2 separate regions of the Homo sapiens genome follow, and region 1 is linked to region 2. The links are contacts of gene promoters, found by promoter capture Hi-C in blood cells and fetal thymus (Javierre and others, 2016). All regions are on one chromosome and are shown on one strand. Each heading gives the region's core, a stretch centred on a gene start or on the middle of the fragment in contact. The rest is flanking DNA. Distances are from core to core; before and after follow the strand shown.

The links. Contacts are between HindIII fragments. The CHiCAGO score rates a contact against its expected background, and 5 or more counts as called.
Region 1: a fragment that was not itself captured here is called in contact with the fragment with the promoter of CD3D in region 2 in 1 of 17 cell types (neutrophils); the score reaches 5.1 in neutrophils.

The regions. Positions count from the first base shown.
Region 1 is chr11:118,127,955-118,131,414 of GRCh38, forward strand. No RefSeq gene overlaps it. Among named protein-coding and RNA genes, the nearest start is that of SCN4B, 23 kb to the right of the region's middle. RefSeq lists enhancers at 1,928-2,429, 2,430-2,929. The HindIII fragment of the contact is 4,106 bases long and covers 1-3,368 here.
Region 2 is chr11:118,341,000-118,343,954 of GRCh38, forward strand. CD3D (CD3 delta subunit of T-cell receptor complex) reads right to left here and starts at 1,706. Exons shown (of 5, transcript NM_000732.6): 1 at 1,554-1,706. The coding sequence starts at 1,608. The HindIII fragment of the contact is 13,588 bases long and covers 1-2,955 here.

The DNA.
Region 1 (3,460 bases), core at 66-2,565, 210 kb before region 2:
TACAGGCGTAAGCCACCACGCCTGGACTTAGGCTTTCTTAATACTTCACTTTTTATTTTATTGTTAATTTTTATTTTATTTATTTATTTATGTTTTGGGAGAGACAAGGTCTCGCTATGTTGCCCAGGCTGGTCTTGAACTCCTGGCCTCAAGGGATCCTTACAACTCAGCCTCCCAAAGCTGAAATTACAGGCATGAGCCACCGCAACCAACCCAACACTTAATATTTTTTTTAGAGCAGTTTTAGTTTCACAGCAAAACTGAGCAGAAGGTAAAGAGATTTCATATATACTCCCTGCCTCCACACATGCAGGAGTGTCCCTCATTATCATCAACACCCCCACCAGAGTGGTACATGGGTCACAGATGATAACGCAGGTACCTTTCTGAGTCTGAATTATTTCACCTAGCATACTGCATTTGAGATTCATCCAGTGCTTTCACTTAGCATACTGCATTTGAGAATCCCATAGTGCATGGGATTTTGTGGAATATTCCATTGTATTGTATGGCTAGACACAGTTTGTTTTATCTACTCACCAGTCAGAGATTTAGGTTATTTATTTGTTTTGGCAATGGCAAAACCTCTAGAAGCAACTCTGTACGGGTTTTTCAGTGAACATAAATTTTCATGAATTTCTTCTGACAAGAATGCAGTAACAAAAAATGCAATTACTTTCCCATCTGAAACAACTAAAACGCTGGGGGGAAAATGCACGAAATGGCTTTCAGACACAGGGCATCAGGCAGCACAGGTCAGTGATTCCTGAGAGCGGAGAACCAAATGAGGGAGCCCTCCAATTGCTACAGCACCAGGAAAGGGGACTCGGGCAGAGTCTGGCAACCTCTCAGAATCAAGGAGATGGAGTCAGGAGTCCTGTGGATAGGGCTCACTGGGCAGTATCTCAGAGAAGAGACAGCTTCACAGAGACAGCGCTCCAGAGATCTGCAAACGGTCCCCGTGAGCCTTCAGCTGCTGATCCAGGCACACCCGAGGCTGAGAAAGAACCACCAGAAAAGATTAGAGGAAGCAATCCCCGGAGCTCATGCAGGGCGAAGAGTAGTTCACATTACAGCCAACTAAAATGGCAAAACTTCCTAATTCATGAGAGATGAGGAAGAGTATTCAAAGGGCATTGCCTCAGTAGTGGGGTGAGGTCAGCCCTGGATTAAAGGCTGCCCTATGTGAGCTCCAGGGATTTTCCTTCCTCATCCTTTCTAGAGGCTCCTTCCCTTGCCTTAGGTAGTTTCCTCACACAACTGCACTATCAGCGCTCAGCTGAAAACTTGGGAGGACCCTCCAAGGTTCTCTGGTCCTGCAAACTCTTACTATCCTAACCTCCCCCCAGATTCTTGGCACCTCTCCACAACTCAGAGAGAATGCTAGGCTTAGCCTGGGGCCCTCTCCCCAGCCTTCCAGGCACTACAGCCTACAAACGATCTCCAGGCAGTAAACTGGAGCAACAGTAAAGCTCATCTCCTGCGTTTCTCCCTCTCAGGAATGACAATTCTCTGCTGCCTATTGTCCAGGGTCTGAAAACCATTGTATCATAGGTGCTTTCCAATTTTTTTAGTTGTTTGAGGTGCAAGGGTAAATGGTCCCTATGCCTCCACCTTGGCCAGAGCTAGAGATGACATCATCTAATCCTGTTTTAAAAGAACCACCCTGGAAATTAGATTAAAGAGGACCAAGGGTAAAAGCAGGAAGACCAGTGAGAAAGCTACTGCAATAATCCAGGGGAGAGCCAGGGCGGCCTGGGCAAGGACTGTAGGGATGGTGGTAGCGAGAGGTAGTTGAGGTGATGATATATTTTGAACATAAGAGTTAATGGGATTTGCTGACAAAAAGGTTTCAGGTCGGAGACAAAATAAGGAGTCATGGTAGACTCCAAAATTTTTGGCCTGATGACTGGATGAATGAGGAAACGTGGGGAGGAGCAGATTTGGGGTCAGATTGAGGTGAAATCATGAGTTTGGTTTTGGGCAGTTGACATAACCAAGTCTGCCAGGAAGTCAGGAAGGGCTGGTCACTCGCCTCCCAGCCCTCACCCACTCAGCTGACAGCCCCTCCTGACCAGGAACAGGAGGGTGTGAGCTCAGTGCTGGCCACACCTGGGTTTTCCTCCCGTAATGCTGGCTCAGCTTACAAACTACTTAACATTTACATGGCCTGCACTTTGTAGTTTTTAAGTATTTCAGTCCAAGCATGGTGGCTCATGCCTGTAATCCCAGCAGTTTGGGAGGCCAAAGCGAGCAGATCACCTGAGGTCAGGAGTTCAAGACCAGCCTGGCCAACGTGGCAAAACCCCGTCTTACTAAAAATACAAAAAATTAGCTGGGCATGGTGGCACATGCCTGTAATCCCAGCTACTTGGGAGGCTGAGGCAGGAGAATTGCTTGAACCCAGGAGGTGGAGGTTGCAGTGAGCTGAGATCGTGCCACTGTACTCCAGCCTGGGCAACAGAGCCAGACTCTGTCTCAAAAAAAAAAAAAAAATTCACACCTGTTGATTCATTTAATCTTACAAGAGTACCATGCAGTAGATGTCATCATCCCCATTTTGCAGGTTAGGGAACTAAGGCTTGGAGAGATGAAGTGGCTTTCCCAAGGCCGTTTCACTGGTAGGTAACAGAGTGAGAACTTGAACCCAGATTCCTGGATTCTAAGTCCAGGATTGTTCTTTTCTATATCTGCTTGCAGGCCATGGAAGGGGACCCTACATCTTTCCTGTTAGCACTGCGGGTGGCTTTGTTTAAGCAATGAGCTATGAGAGAACATCTCCCCTCCTGCTGTGTGCGCTCTACTGCTACAGTGTGCACAGGTCCAATTAGAATGCCAGTGGAAGGGCTGGCCATCTGCCTGAGGGAGTGGGAGCCCTGGAGCTCCTGAATTGGGAGGGTCTTCATCTTTCTCCGGCTTCAACCTTAAGTCTGCTCTCCAAATGACTTGATAACACCATAGGAACCAAAGATTGTAAAGCAAAGTCTCTCCATGTCTTGCTCTGCCCCCTCTGCAGATTTTCCTGCATTCATTTCCCCTTGGCACCCTTTCCCCTGTCTTGGTGCCAGAGGTGTGACCTGACCTGTCTTAAGGCCAATCATTCTATCTGGCCACTGGATCCTATCCCCTTGGGTCCACCCAAATGACACTTTCTTTCCTCTCTCTCAACTACTGCAGGCTGTCTGGCTCCACTGTCTCTTCCTCAGGTGCATTTAACTTGTTTTTATTTCTTCCATCTTTAAAAGAAAACCATCTACCCTCCTTCCTTACCAGGGCCAATGCCTGTCACAGCTAAGTTAACTGAAATTGTAACCTATGCACCAGGGCCATTTTCCGCCTCCCACTGACTCTTCCACATACTGGAATCAAGCTTCTGCCATCTCCCCCTATCTGGCTGACCCATTTCACTTCGCTGGGTTCACTGAGGTCACCAATGACCAAGGGGCAAGGATTGATCCTT
Region 2 (2,955 bases), core at 456-2,955:
CATCTAATTCCACTTCCCAGCCATCTACAACACTCCCACTTCAGCTTCTTATCCTCATCCTTCCTCATTGCCCCTGCTCCATTGACAACCAAGAAAGCGGGGCTCTCAACACTGAAGCCTTTCCCAGGGCCAGGGATGGCTGTGGGTGGAGACCAGCTGGTTTACCAGCCCCTGAATTATCAGCCAAGTGGTCCAGAACGGGACCAGGGCAAATCCCATGTACAGTTTTCCACCCTTGGTTAGAAGGAGGAGAACAGGAAAAAAATTTTATTGAATCCATCCCTAGAGCTCCTCACAAGTCAAGTCTTGTGGGAGACTTTTAGGGCTGGAGGTGAGTGCAGCAACATTCCAGATGCAGTGAGTTCCTCTGACAGCCTGAGCACATCTCCACAGGCCACAGAGGCACTACAGTCTATGCCTCCAAACACAGGGAAAAGTGGAGGCTACATTCATTCATCCTGGGCTTCACACTAAGTCCCAAATTTGGATACAAGAGCATCTTCTAGAAAACCCTGAAACAGCTGTTGCTCACACTTCTGAAGCAGGTTGGAAGTATATGCATGTATCCTCAGGGAGACACATGCACATCAAATGCTTCACGTCCTACAGTCGCGTCCTCTTCAGGGATCTGTCTCCAGTGGAAATCCTGAGTGCCCTAGTGCAGCCAACTATTAGGTGACCATTGGACCCAGTTTGCTTAGTGTTGAAGGGGTTCCTCGGACATGGGACTTTCCATTTTAAAACTGAAATTGGCAAACTGAGATGAGTTAAAATCCTACCATGTAACAACCCCTCAAATCTTCCCTCCGTCCTGCTCAACCTAAAGTTAACTTCTCTTAAAGCATTCACATAAGTGCTAGGACATGCCTCCAGGGATGACATAATCATGGCCAAACAAACAAGAGTCCTGATTCCAGAGGCCATCAGGCCTAAAAGGAGTAGTGCAGGAAGCTGTGCTCCCATGGCCAGTCCCAGATTCAGGTACATACGTACTGAGCTATTTTCTGCAGATCTCTGGCCTAAGGCCTTCTGAGAGACATTCTAGGCCCACATGCACCCATGGCTGGAGTCAGTCAAAGCCAAGAGCCTGTTTCCCAGACTCTATGCTACATCCTGCCCCTGCCCTCCTGACACCCCTGGGGTGCCTGGTGAACTGAAGCTAGCACCGAGAAGCACTTTTTTTTTTTTTTGAGATAAGGTCTCACAGGTTGCCTAGGTTGGAGGGCAGTGGCATGATCACAGCTCACTGAAGCCTTGAAATCCCGGGCTCAAGTGACCCTCCTGCCTCAGCCTCTCAAATAGCTGGGACTACAGTTGTGCACCACCATGCCTGGCTAATTCTTTTGTTTTTTGTAAAGATAGAGTCTCATCATGTTGCTCAGACTGGTCTCAAACTCCTGGCCTCAAAGGATCCTCCCACTTCGGCCTCCCAAAGCTCTGGGATTACTGGTGTGAGCCACCGTGCCTGGCAAGAAACACTTTCAAGTGGGCCTCACTCCCATCAGTAATGTCCCTCTCAGGTCCCTTCCCCCACCCACCTGGAGTAGCCTTACCTTGCGAGAGAAGGGTAGCCAGTACCAGGCCAGAGAGAAACGTGCTATGTTCCATCTCCCAGCGGAACTCATCCAGTAGATAAAGCCAGGTCACCGAACTATCAGCCTGGGTGAGAGCTGCCCTCCCCTAGCTGACTCACAGGTACCGGAAAGAGGAGAGTGGGGGAGGAACTAGAAGATGTCTGCTTCTCTGCTTTCTGCCGTTGATGGTGGGAAATTTTCAGAGTGGGGGTGGGCTAGGGGTAGGGTAGGAAGGAAGCGGTGTAAATTGCTCTATCTCTGAGCAGGGAGCTGGCAGAGAATATGGAAAAGGTGGCCTGAACTTTAGCGTCCCTATTGACAATGCAACCACATTTACACACAACCTAAACACTGCCACATCTCGAAGCCCCTTGAGAGAAGCCGTCGGCCCCATAGCGCAAGCCGTAGCAGCTAGATTTCTCATGGAGGCTGATCTTTCTCAGGACCCTTCACTAGGCAGCCAGGGACACCAGATCTAGCAGCTTCTTGTCAGTGGGAGGTTGGGCTTTAGAGACCCCAGCCAGAGATTTGAATCCTGGGTCCAATACTGCCTACCTGTGGGGCCTGGGCCAGCCATAAAATTTTTCAGAGTCTTATTCCATTAGTACCATTATTAGGATTCAAACAAGATATTTGCATGGTGCCTCACGCATCATATGTGCTCATTAAGGGGTAGTTATTAATAATAATATAATTGACTGACAGGCAATATTGAGCCTCCCGGTGAGACAAATGGACCTTTTTCCCCTGTGGCCTACGAGGATCTGAAACTCTTCACGCTGCTGCAGTTAGACTGTCACTTACCTGGGGACAGAGTCATGCCTGTCTTGCTCACTGCTGTATCTTGTGCCTGGCACATAACGGGAGCTCTGCACATTTTTGTTGGCTCACTGACTGACTGGCTGAGGGAGATAGGGGCCTGAGATCCTGGACATTCAGTCCGGGCTCTGGCCCCTGAAAATGTGCTGGCCTGTCCTCGGAATTGTTCCACCTATTGCCTTCCAGGCGCCTCTTTCATGATCTCAAAAGAATAGTGAAACCAGGTGCCGTGTCTCACGCCTGTAATCCCAACACTTTGGGAGGCTGAGGCAGGTGGATCACAAGGTCAGGAGTTCGAGACCAGCCTGACCAACAAGGTGAAACCCCGTCTCTACTAAAAATACAAAAATTAGCCGGGCTTGCTGGCACGCACCTGTAATCTCAGCTACTCAGGAGGCTGAGGCAGGAGAATCGCTTGAACCCCGGAGGTGGAGGTTGCAGTGAGCTGAGATAGCGCCACTGCACTCCAGCCTGGGCAACAAAGTGAGACTCTGTCTCAAAAAAGAAAAAGAAAAAAAAAGTGAAAAAAATTCCTGAATGAAGGCCTGGACTGAGGTGGCTT